Linked DNA regions of Homo sapiens: all the other regions are linked to region 2. Evidence: promoter capture Hi-C in human tissues and cell types (Jung and others, 2019). All regions are on one chromosome and are shown on one strand. The core of a region is centred on a gene start or on the middle of the fragment in contact, and the rest is flanking DNA. Distances in the headings are between cores, read along the strand shown. Region 1 overlaps CHST11 (carbohydrate sulfotransferase 11). Region 2 holds the start of ALDH1L2 (aldehyde dehydrogenase 1 family member L2). Region 3 overlaps NFYB (nuclear transcription factor Y subunit beta). Region 4 has its middle 15 kb from the start of CHST11.

What was found. The method cuts DNA at HindIII sites, captures the fragments that hold promoters and counts their contacts. A contact is called where the count stands out against the background at its distance.
Region 1: a contact is called between a fragment that was not itself captured here and the fragment with the promoter of ALDH1L2 in region 2, in 2 of the 25 tissues and cell types used here (bladder and lymphoblastoid cells).
Region 3: a fragment that was not itself captured here is called in contact with the fragment with the promoter of ALDH1L2 in region 2 in 2 of the 25 tissues and cell types used here (lymphoblastoid cells and mesenchymal stem cells).
Region 4: a contact is called between a fragment that was not itself captured here and the fragment with the promoter of ALDH1L2 in region 2, in 1 of the 25 tissues and cell types used here (lymphoblastoid cells).

Annotation. Positions count from the first base shown.
Region 1 is chr12:104,458,252-104,461,005 of GRCh38, forward strand. The region is part of intron 1 of CHST11 (carbohydrate sulfotransferase 11); the gene reads left to right. Among named protein-coding and RNA genes, the nearest start is that of CHST11, 2.7 kb to the left of the region's middle. RefSeq lists silencers at 1-15, 176-235. The HindIII fragment of the contact is 4,193 bases long and covers 1-2,754 here.
Region 2 is chr12:105,083,063-105,085,762 of GRCh38, forward strand. ALDH1L2 (aldehyde dehydrogenase 1 family member L2) reads right to left here and starts at 1,396. Exons shown (of 23, transcript NM_001034173.4): 1 at 1,327-1,396. The coding sequence starts at 1,374. RefSeq lists enhancers at 239-1,039, 534-773 and a silencer at 1,274-1,703. The HindIII fragment of the contact is 4,053 bases long and covers 1-2,700 here.
Region 3 is chr12:104,126,555-104,129,254 of GRCh38, forward strand. NFYB (nuclear transcription factor Y subunit beta) reads right to left here. Exons shown (of 8, transcript NM_006166.4): 3 at 1,870-1,963. Among named protein-coding and RNA genes, the nearest start is that of NFYB, 10 kb to the right of the region's middle. The HindIII fragment of the contact is 6,155 bases long and covers 1-2,700 here.
Region 4 is chr12:104,440,800-104,443,544 of GRCh38, forward strand. No RefSeq gene overlaps it. Among named protein-coding and RNA genes, the nearest start is that of CHST11, 15 kb to the right of the region's middle. The HindIII fragment of the contact is 4,879 bases long and covers 1-2,745 here.

The DNA of each region.
Region 1 (2,754 bases), core at 255-2,754, 620 kb before region 2:
TCCGAGCTCCTGGGTCACGCCTTGACCACTGCAGTTTTGGAGGAAACTTTGGCCAGGTCCTGGGCTGACCGTCCGTTTGCATCCCCCACTTCTGGGATCCGAGCAACGGGAATCCCCCGGGCGGCGTGGGAATGAACCCCATTCCTCCGGTCCCTTGTGGCTCAGGCAAAGTTCCACGTCCGAAATCTGGACTGGGGGAGGGACGAGGCTCGTCGCTTCCTAGGGGTGCGAGGGAAAGTTTGGGTTCTGGAGAGGGAGGGGCGCCCTCGAGCGCGGCGGCCGGGGGTGAGCAGCTCGGCTGCGAAGCCCAACAGGTAGAACGTTCCGAGAAGCCTTCCGGGTAACGCGGGTCTCCCCGCCAAGCCGTGGCTCCCCTGCTCCCTTTTACCCTCCCTTAGCAGCCCCCTGCCGGGCCACGTTGGCTCAGAAATCCATTTTCTACGCCTCCGAGTTGCCTTTCTCAGCGTAGTCACAGCAATAATTTGCTTTTCTAATTGCAAGGAGGAGGGAGGTGGAAACGCATTTCCTTCCAGGGAAGTGGGGTTGGTGTTTTTCATTTTTGCCTCCCGCCTTCTCCTTTCACTGTGTATCTAACACTTTAAACAGACGCAGTCCCGAATTCATCAAGCCTGCGTTTGGGTCGATGGCAGAGGAATAAAGCTGTTCTTTCCATCAAACAGGCAGGGCTGCAGGCTGCAGATTCCTTGACAGCGCAGGGACAGACGGCCCCTTTGCCCCACTCGGTCTGGAGCAGTTGTTAAGGCAGCCACACTGCCAAGGATATGGTCCGACTCTACCACATGTAACCTCAGGACGTCCGAGCCAGCCCTGTTAAAGATGGCTTTTGTTTGCAGCTGGGTATTTTTAGTTTAATGTCAGCAAACTACAGCGGTGTTTGTCTCCTCACCCAAACCTGCGGTTGTGAAACTTATAAAGGAATTTAAAAATGGACCTGGCTTGCATTCCGGCAGGCAGGCCTTGGTTGCAGTGGGCAGGGCCAGACAGCCAGGGGTATCTCAGAGTGCCAAGCTCCAGGGCCCACCGGAGACCGGGCCAGACTCACCCCAGAGCGCCAGGGGACTGGTGGTGTACAGATACACTCGGGTTCAAACAGTTTAAACAAGGGGCCGGTGATTTGGTCTAGACTCTAGAGCTGTGTTCAGGTTTCGCTGGGACCGTGAATGCCAGTAATGCTCTGTACGAATGCCCAGAACACGGATGAGTGTCAGCCTTCAGCAGGAATGCGCTTGAGCTTCTGTGTACCTGTTAATTGCCCAGGGAAATACAATTGTCATGGAATTCTTTGTGAGAATTGGGAAATAACTTTCTAGCCAAAGATACTAGAAAGAAACTTCCAACTTGTAATTGTCACTTTGTGAAAATTTCCAGCCCTTGTTAGTCTTAAGTTGACTTGAAAGTGACATCATATCTTTTCAGCCTAGCCTTTTGGAAGAGGCAGAGAACCTTTTCTAAGCTTGTGCTGAAAAAGATCCTCTGTCGATGATCCTGCCCCATCCTTTATGTCCCCCTCTAGTCCTATTTTCTCCCATTGTTTATTATTTAGATCTCTATAAATATACTTTTCTGATATTTCCCTCCAGTCCATAGCAAATACTACTTTCAAAACATTGTGTTGAATGTAGAATTACAGATAGTTCAGTTGAAAGGCCTTCCTTATTTCAGATTACTTACAGTCCACAAAAGCTCTGTGTCAACAGTTTATCATTACACGGGGCATAAAAATATACTTTCAAATCTACATTAAACATTTTCTTTTTGAGGGGTTCATTTTATTAAGCTACACTGTTAATGACCACTGATGTGGAATCTCTTTCACTGGTTTGAATTTCTTTAAAAGTTAAAGATCCTTGCTTCTCTGAAGTATCTTGGGGGTAAGGAGAGCTGATCCTTCAGCCTGGCTCTGCAGTTTCTGTCTCTCCAGATCACCCTGGGAGAGGCAGAAGGGACCACAGCATGGCACGGATTGTGTAGCTAAAAATTTGGAGGCCTCTGGCAGGGGTTCCAGATACCTACATGTGAAATAGAAAAATAGTATTGCAAAAGCAATGGGTTCCAGGCTTCGTTGGTGGCTGGAGGGTATGAGAGGAGGGAGAGAAAGAAAAAAAGGAAGGCAGGGCGCGGTGGCTCATACCTGGAATCCCAGCACCTTGGGAGGCTGAGGCGGGTGCATCACTTGAGCTCAGGAGTTCGAGACCAGCCTGGCCAACATGGCGAAACCACATCTCTACTAAAAATACAAAAATTAGCTGGGTGTGGTGGCACACGCCTGTAATCCCAGGAACTCCGGAGGCTGAGGCATGAGAATAGCATGAACCCAGGAGGCAGAGGTTGCTGTGAGCTAAGATGGCACCACTGCACTCCAGCCTGGGCGACAGAGTGAAACTGTGTCTCAAAAAAAAAAAAAAAAAAGAGACAAAAAGGAGACAGCTGGCAAGGCTGGCTGTCCCTCTCTCTGATTCTAATCTGGGGCCCATTATCTTTTCTAATTCATAGAATTGATTAATTTGCAAATTTGAGTAATTGGTCATCAGTTGCACAAGGGTTTAGCAGAAGTGGGCCTTGTCAGTAGGATAGTTACATTTAGAAGTTTTTGATACTCTGAGTTAATAGTCTTCCTTAAGAATATTTTATAGGGCAAGGACCAGGTTTTAGACTCCATTTTAATCCCGATGTTTTTTGCACGGTGTCTGACAACAGTGGGTTCTCAATAGAATGTTTGCTGGATGAATGCAT
Region 2 (2,700 bases), core at 146-2,645:
GAGATGTTTACCTTTTATTACTGAAATCTTATGCAAACCGCACTATCAAAATCTTTTCATTCTGCAAGACTTCCTTCTGGTCACCAAAAAAGACAAGTCAGTGAAAGGTGTTGACAGAGGAGGCCAACAAAACAGGCTCAGGCATTGGGCACAGCCCGTTGCTTTCTGTGCTATCCATCTGGGATCCCATGTGCCACGTGGTGGGGGAAGCTAATGAGGGGTCCAGGAGAGCAGGCCAAAGTCCTAGCAGAGCAGGTCTTCCCCACCCCCACCCCTCGTTTTATAAAAGGTGACTATACCTCAAAGTAACTAGAACTGGTTGCAAAGAGTAAAACGAATTCTTATTATTTGGGGTTGTCTGGGATACAGAAAGCTTTTCCTTTGATGCAAGTTTGGGCCAGTTTTTGGTGCTACTCAAGACTTCTCTCTGCCTCCAAGTTTTTTACATCTGAATATATACATATGTACATATGGCTTTGGCATGGCCGAGAAAAAGAATCGATAAGCAAATTCTTTTATGTACTTCCTATAAAAGATACGATACATAAGACAGTTTTTATTTTTTTTTTTTCTCTCTCTCTCTTCCCTAAACAGTCCCGAGGCCCCCTGGGTGCTGAAGGCAGCACCGCAGTGCAACGTGTCCTCTCTCGGTTCCATTTCTGGAGGAGCTGATGCAATTCCAAGGCGCGGGGCTGGGCCAGAGCTCGGTTCTTGTGCTACAGTAGAATAGTGTTCCAGCGTGGCTGCCTCTGCAGCGCCTGGCAATTCTAGAAATTTTGCCATCTGCAGCTCAGCTCAGGAATACTGAGCTTGCAGCCATCAGCTTTGAGTGCCATTATCTGAACCGGCCCTGCGTGCCAGTCTCGAGCGCTTACACCTCCCAGGCCGCCAACGAGGACCCTATTGACTTGATACTCCCCTCCTCCAGGAGACAGTCTCGGTTCCATATGGCTCCAGCTCTTGACCAGGGATCTCATGATTGAAGTGAAAAAGGAAAGGAAGCAGACTCTGTCCTCCTTACCAAGTGACTGTTCCCACCTTGCCATCCCAGCCAGACTTGACACGTCCAAAAACTGCATCCTCAGCCCCCTCCCGGCAGAAGACAATGGCCTGCGTGCCAGTTCCCATCCGGGACCCTCCCCAAGCCCTCCTCTGAGGTCTCTCTGTTTTTGTTTGTTTGTTTGTTTGTTTTAAACGCTGTCTTGGTGTTTAGCAAAGTCTAAGCATCGCTGCTCATCCCCAGCCCCACCGCCCCGGCCCTCCCGCCCCGGAGTCTGGAAACCAGGACAGGGTGACAGCCGGGACGCTCGCCCGGGCCGGACTCACCCGGCCAGTGGAGAAGCGCCGGAGCGCCTGGCTGCCCCGCCGCAGCATGCTGGAGAGGAGCGCTAGCACTGGCGACGCGGCAGCGCGGGAGGCAGGCGGGCGGCGCAGCCTGGGCGCGGCCTGGGCGCGGCCTGCAGTCTGGATGCCCCGGACTGCCTGGCTCGCGGCTCGCCGCTCTCGGCCTCTGCTAGTCCGCACCCCTCCCAAAGCCCACAGCCCGCGGCCCGCCCCACCCTACCAGCTGCAAGGCCCCGCCCCCTAGCTGTCAAGACCCCGCCCCCAGCTGGAAGGCCCCGCCCCGCCAGCTGGCTGCGTTCGGACAGCCAACCTGGTGCGACCCGGCGGAGCGCGTGGGCTTCCTGGAGCCTGTGGGCCCTGACCCTGGTGCCAAGAGCGCACCCAGTCCCAGGGACCGCGCCTCTCCGCTGCCTGGACTTTCCGCCAATTCCAGCCAAGGTCCAGGTGCTTTCTAACTGTGGGACCCTCTACCAGTTACTCAGCCCCGCAGCAGTGTATACGGATCTACCTTATTAGTGGTCAATCTGACATCCCAAGTGCTGTCCATAGCACAGCCCGTAAAAGGCACGCCTGTAGACAGATAGGTAGTGGGGGCGCCTTCGCTGTGGAGGGATCCTGATGCCTACCTCGTAGGACGGTAGGCCGGGCGCGGTGGCTCCCGCCTGTAATCCCAGCACTTTGGGAGGCCGAGGAGGGAAGATGGCCTGAGCTCAGGAGTTCGAGACCAGCCTGGCCACCATGGTGAAACCCCGTCTCTACTAAAAATAAAAAATAATAAAATAATAAAATAATTAGCCGGGCGTGATGTCGCATGCCTGCAGTCCCAGCTACTCGGGAGGCTGAAGCACGAGGATCACTTGAGCCGGGGAGGCGGAGGTTGCAGTGGAGCTGAGATCATGCCACTGCACTTCAGCCTGGACAACAGAGCGAGACTCTGTCTTAAAAATAAATAAATAAATTGGTGCAAAAGTAATTGTGGTTTTTGCCACTGAAAATAATGGCAAACCCGCAATTACTTTTGCATCAACCTAATAGATACGTGCCCTTCTCCCTCACCTCTCTGGAAAAAACGCTCAGACCTGCTTTAGCTGGACGTTTATCTCAAGCCAGACTTCTTAGCCCAGCATTCAGGGCCGTCTGCAATTTGCCATTTTCTCTTATTTCTCACTGCTCTTTTGCATATGTAATTCTGCTTGACTGCAGTTCTTGCCTATTCCTTCTTGGACAATGTTTCCCAGAAAAGCTTGTCATCTGTCACTTGTAATTATCTTGGCACGACCGTTTCTTTTCTGAAAGGTACCGCTTACATGCTGCCTCCTGGAGGCGCTTTTTTCTGATTCTTTTCTCTCTTAGTCT
Region 3 (2,700 bases), core at 184-2,683, 960 kb before region 2:
AATGTAAGTGCTTCTCTATGCCTTTTCTCTTACACATTTTTAGAATTTTTATTATTCCTCATTTCTCCTATTAGATTTTTGCTACTTAATGTCACGAATCAGCTTTGTGTTTCCTACAGCTTGGTACAGCACCTTCCACAGAGTAGGTACTCATAAATATTTATTATACGACTTAGCTATAAAACTTACAGACCGTAACCTATGGCTCCTTCAATACTGCTAGATTAAGAGGTTGTATGTTTCTCCAAACCCAAGTTTATATAAACTCATTTATGTAAAAGTCTATATAAAACTTTTAAAGTTGATATAAAGTTGTCTTGTCTGTATAAAGTTTATATAAAATTCTTTAAAGAATGGAAAAACTGGACTTGATTATTACTGATCCAGTTGGCTTACTAATGTAACTAGTTTTTGAACAAAGCTAGAGCAGTGATCCAACTGTTCATACAAAAAGGGACTTTTCAAATTATATAAATTTAGCTATAACTGAAGCTTGCGCAGTACCAATAACATCCTTTTATGACTAAATGCAGTATCCTGTAAGTAAACTGCCCACTCTTCATATGTACTAAGTAAGGAGGCAAGGCACTTAAGTTGATTCAATTTACGTTTTTATGTGTTTAAAATGATGTTATCAGAATTAATTTATTTGAATATCCGTTTCAGGATGAAATTAATCCCTCTGGCAAGTTTCTTCTAAAAATATATCTCAATTTTTAAAAATTTTACAAATCAGGCCAGGCGTGGTGGCTCATGACTATAATCCCAGCACTTTGGGAGGCTGAAGCAGGCAGATCATCTGAGGTCACGAGTTTGAGACCAGCCTGACCAACACAGCGAAACCCTGTCTCTACTAAAAAAAAATTAGCTGGGCATGGTGCTGGGCGCCTGTGATCTCAGCTAACGGGCAGGCTGAGGCAGGAGAATTGCTTGAACCCAGGAGGCGGAGGTTGCAGTGAGCCAAGATTGTGCCACTGCACTCCAGCCTGGGCGACAGAGCAAGACTCCATCTCAAAAAAAATAAAAAATAAAAAAAAAAAAAAAATTTTTTTTACAAACCAAAATGCCACAAAAGTAAATTATTTCTGATAGGCCAACATAACACTGCCTTTTTTTTTTTTTTTTTTTTTGGAGACAGGGTCTCACTTTGCACTTTGTCACCCAGGCTGGAGTGTGCAGTGGTGCAAACATGGCTCACTGAAGCCTCTACCTCCCAGATTCAAGCAATCCTCCCACCTCAGCCCCCAGCCCCCTAAGTAGCTGGGACTACAGGTACATGCCACCAAGCACAGCTAATTTTTTAATTTTTTTGTAGAGGTGGGGTTTCACCATGTTGCCCAGGCTGGTCTCGAACTCCTGAGCTCAAGTGATCTGCCCACCTTGCCCTCCCAAACTGCTGGGATTATAGGTGTGAGCACCACACTGAGCCAACACTACCATTCTAATACCTGACATAGTTCAAAGTTAATATTGAATGAAAACCAAAAATAAATCATAAGTGCAAGAAATATAATAGCTAGAAATTTAACTCACCCTCTAAATAATTATTTTAGTTACCCTATCAATTGATTATAAATTTCTTATTTAACATTTAAACAGGAAGTCGATAACAAATTTTAAAAGAAACTGTACAGATTTTAGACAAGGTGTATTTTTATAGTAAAAGTCTTTTCAAGGACTCATTCTTTTGAAGACTATTTCTAATAAAAATAGCATGGTACGCCTTTTTAGACTTTCTCATTGAACCGTAACACAAGATTGTAAATTTTCCTATAAAGACACAAGTAGCCTAGAACACCATATTAATGAAATGTCCACTTTCTAACTTGCTTCAACTTGAGAATTTGGTTCTAATTGTGGCTTGCTTACCATCATGAGGCTGTATAACATAATGACTTCCTCCAATATAGTCTGCAGAGATTCCTAGTTGAGAAGCATCTGTTGTAGAACTGTCACCATCCATCTATGAGGAGAAAAACAGTTTTTCAATACTTTTCAAAGTACTAACAAACGTAACAGATTCAACACTTATAAACTGTCACAGGATGATGCATCAATTATACTTTTCATAGCCTTAAGCTTACTAAAAGAGAATTTATATTTCTTTTTTAAAAAATTAATTATTTTTTTGAGACAGGGTCTTACTCTGTGGCCCAGGCTGGAGTGCAGTGGCGTGATCACAGCTCACTGCAGAATCCACCTCCCAGGCTGAAGCAATCCTCCCACCTCAGCCTCCTGAGTAGCTGGACTACAGGCATGCACCACCATGCCTGGCCAATTTTTTTGTATTTTTAGCAGAGACAGGGTTTTGCTATGTTGCCCAGGCTGGTCTGGAACTCCTGGGCTCAAACAAACCACCTACCTCAGCCTCCCAAAATGCTGAGATTACAGGCATCAGCCACCGCAACCAGCCTATATTTCTTGATTTGGAAACTTTCCCACAATTTGTCCACGATTCAAGATTTCCCTATCCATCTTCCATAAGTGATATAAGCATAAGGCCAATAGCGACAAGGAAATGAATCTAAAGCATATGCCTCTTTCTTTTTAAGTGCATAATCTTCAAATATAGTACCACAGGCAACCCTGACTTACAACCTAATTTATCCCTGGAATGATGATCAGCTTAGTAAAGCTGTACACAGTGTCATGTACCTGTAGCCCCAACTGCTCAGAAGCTGAAGCAGGAGGACTGCTTGA
Region 4 (2,745 bases), core at 66-2,565, 640 kb before region 2:
ACATTACACCTAGAAGTATCCAAAAATGTAGTGAATGGTAAGAAGGAGAGAAATCAACATTTAGTCCAATAAGTAATATACACAACCTCTGGAAGGGACGTGCCTGTCAGCTGCACACTCAGTGGTTCAGATTCCATGCCACTCCTGCTTCTCTGCAAGAGTCAGCTGGGTGTATAGAAGAGAACTCAAGGGACATCTTGGAGGCAGGGGAAGAAAGGCCTGAGTCGGGGATCCCCACAACCACCCTCAGCTCCAAAGACTTGCTAGGAGGACTCATGGGACTCAGCATATAGTCACAGTCATGGCTATGATTTATTATAGTGAACAGGTGCAAAATAAAATGAGTGAAAGAAGGAGACACATGGGGCAAAGCTGGAGGAGACAAGATGCAAAATTCCAAGAAGTCACACAGGGTATACTTAGTTTATTTAGAAAGAATTGTGACAACCTATGTGGAATGCTGTCTACCAGGGAAGTGCCACTAAGCCTAGGAGTCAGTCCAAGGATTTTACTGAGGGTCAGTCACATAAGCATCTGTGGCCTAGGATGTACCAAAAGTCCGGGCTTCCAGAAGGAAGGCAGGTGTTCAGCATAAACCACATTTTTGTACAAAGAGTTCAGGCGCAGCGAACTGCTCCTGTCCTTTCTGGGAGTGCTGGGAACCCACCCCAAATCCAATGTAGATGCCAGCCAAGGGCCAACCTTGCAAGCAGTCTCAAACTGACTATGTTAACTCTTTTCTGCCAGAGGCCTCAGAGCCACATGTATCTCCCTCATCCCTGGACTGGAGGCCATTGAGTCACAGTAGGTTCTAGGTCCTGCTGGAGACCATTTGCTCTCTGAAGCCCTGTACATCCTGGGCAGGCCATGGAAAGCCAGGAGGGTTGTGGCAGGCCATCTAGCCAGACAGGCACTTCCCTCCACCAATGCTGCCACCCTGGGCTGGATGTGACCACATGGGGACTTCTTTGCCATGCTCTCCCCTCCACTGGTACACATGGGGAAGTCTAGCATGACCTCCTCACTGTCTAGTAACCTAAGTGCCCCTTGGGTCCTATTATCCATCTGTGTTTGTCCCAAAGTGGCGGATGGGAAGAGGGAACAAGAACGCTGGCATTTGAACTGCTCACTCTGCCTCTTTGTCTTTTCTCCTGCCCATAGAACACTGAGGTGGGAATACATGGCTTCCCATGTCTCTAAAACCACATCATATCTGCAGTAAAACTGGCACCTGGGCAGCCAGTTTTAGCTGTTGTTAATGTGTTAACACATTATATGACCTAATGGCCACATAACAGGACCTTGGAGAGTATAGAAAATCCTTTTATCTCTTGGCAAATTCTGGCTTTTTATGCTACTTTTTTTTTTTTTTTTGGAGACAGAGTCTTGCTCTGTCACCCACGTTGGAGTGCAGTGGCATGATCTGAGCTCACCACAACCTCTGCCTCCAGGGTTCAGGCGATTCTCCTGCCTCAGCCTCCCGAGTAGCTGGGATCATAGGCGTGCACCACCACGCCCAGCTAAATTTTTTTTATTTTTTTTGTATTTTTAGTAGACACAGGGTTTCACTATGTTGGCCAAGCTGGGCTCAAACTCCTGACCTCAGTTGATCCACCTGCCTCGGCCTCCCAAAGTGCTGGGATTACAGGTATGAGCCACTGTGCACAGCCTCATGCTACTTTAATATCCAAATCTGATGAATGACCTTTTTGCTCTAGATGGAGCCTTCCTTACTCTGGAGAAAGAAGCCTCATAGATTAGGGTTGGTGTGAATGACTGCAAAGGTGAGTGAAATTTCATATCCCCCAGTTTCATTCCATGATTTTCATTCTAGAAATGATAGTTTGCATTTGTAAACGTGTTTTCATGACCTTTTGGTCATGATAACTCAGAGATTGAGGTAGACATGTCCATTATACAGACAAAACTACTGAGTCAAAGAGGGCTAGTTAATGGTGGAGTTTAGACTTGAATTTATATCTTCACACTTGACTCTACTAAACTTCTTGCTACATATTATTTGTTGCTAGCATTAGATCTTTATTGTCTCTTATAATCTATGGGCAGGTGCAGATTCTGTAAGGAATATCTGTTCTTTCCCATCCACAAAAATGGCCTCCCAAATATATTCCTGTCCTAATCCATGGAACCTGTGATTATGTTACCTTGAATGGCAGAAGAGACTTTGCAGATGTGACCCAATTAAGGATTTTGAAATGGAAAGATTATCCTGGATTATCTGGGTAGACCTGATGTAATTACAAGCATTCTTGTAAGAGGGAAGCAGGAGGTGGGGTGGAGGGGAGAGAGAGAGAGAGAGAGAGAGAGAGAGGAAGAGAGGAAGAGAGGAAGTGAGGAGGAGAGGAGGAGAAGAGAAGAGGACAAGAGAAGAAGAGAAGAGAGGAAGAGAGAGAGGGGAAGAGAGAGGGGAAGAGAGAGGGGAAGAGAGAGAGGAAGAGAGAGGCTATACAGTGGCTTTGAAGATGGAGGATGGGGCCATGAGGCAAGCGATGCAAGTGACAGACCTCCAGAAGCTATAAAAAGACTAGGAAACAGACCTTTTCCCCACAGCCTCTGGAGGAGAGGCAGCCTTGCTGACACCTTGATTTTGGCCCACTGAGACTGGTTTTGTACTTTGGAACTCCAGAACTGTAAAATGACACATTTGTGTTGTTTGAAGTCACTAAGTTTGTGGTAATTTGTTACAGCAGCAATAGCAAACTAACACATGCAGTGTCCTCTCTT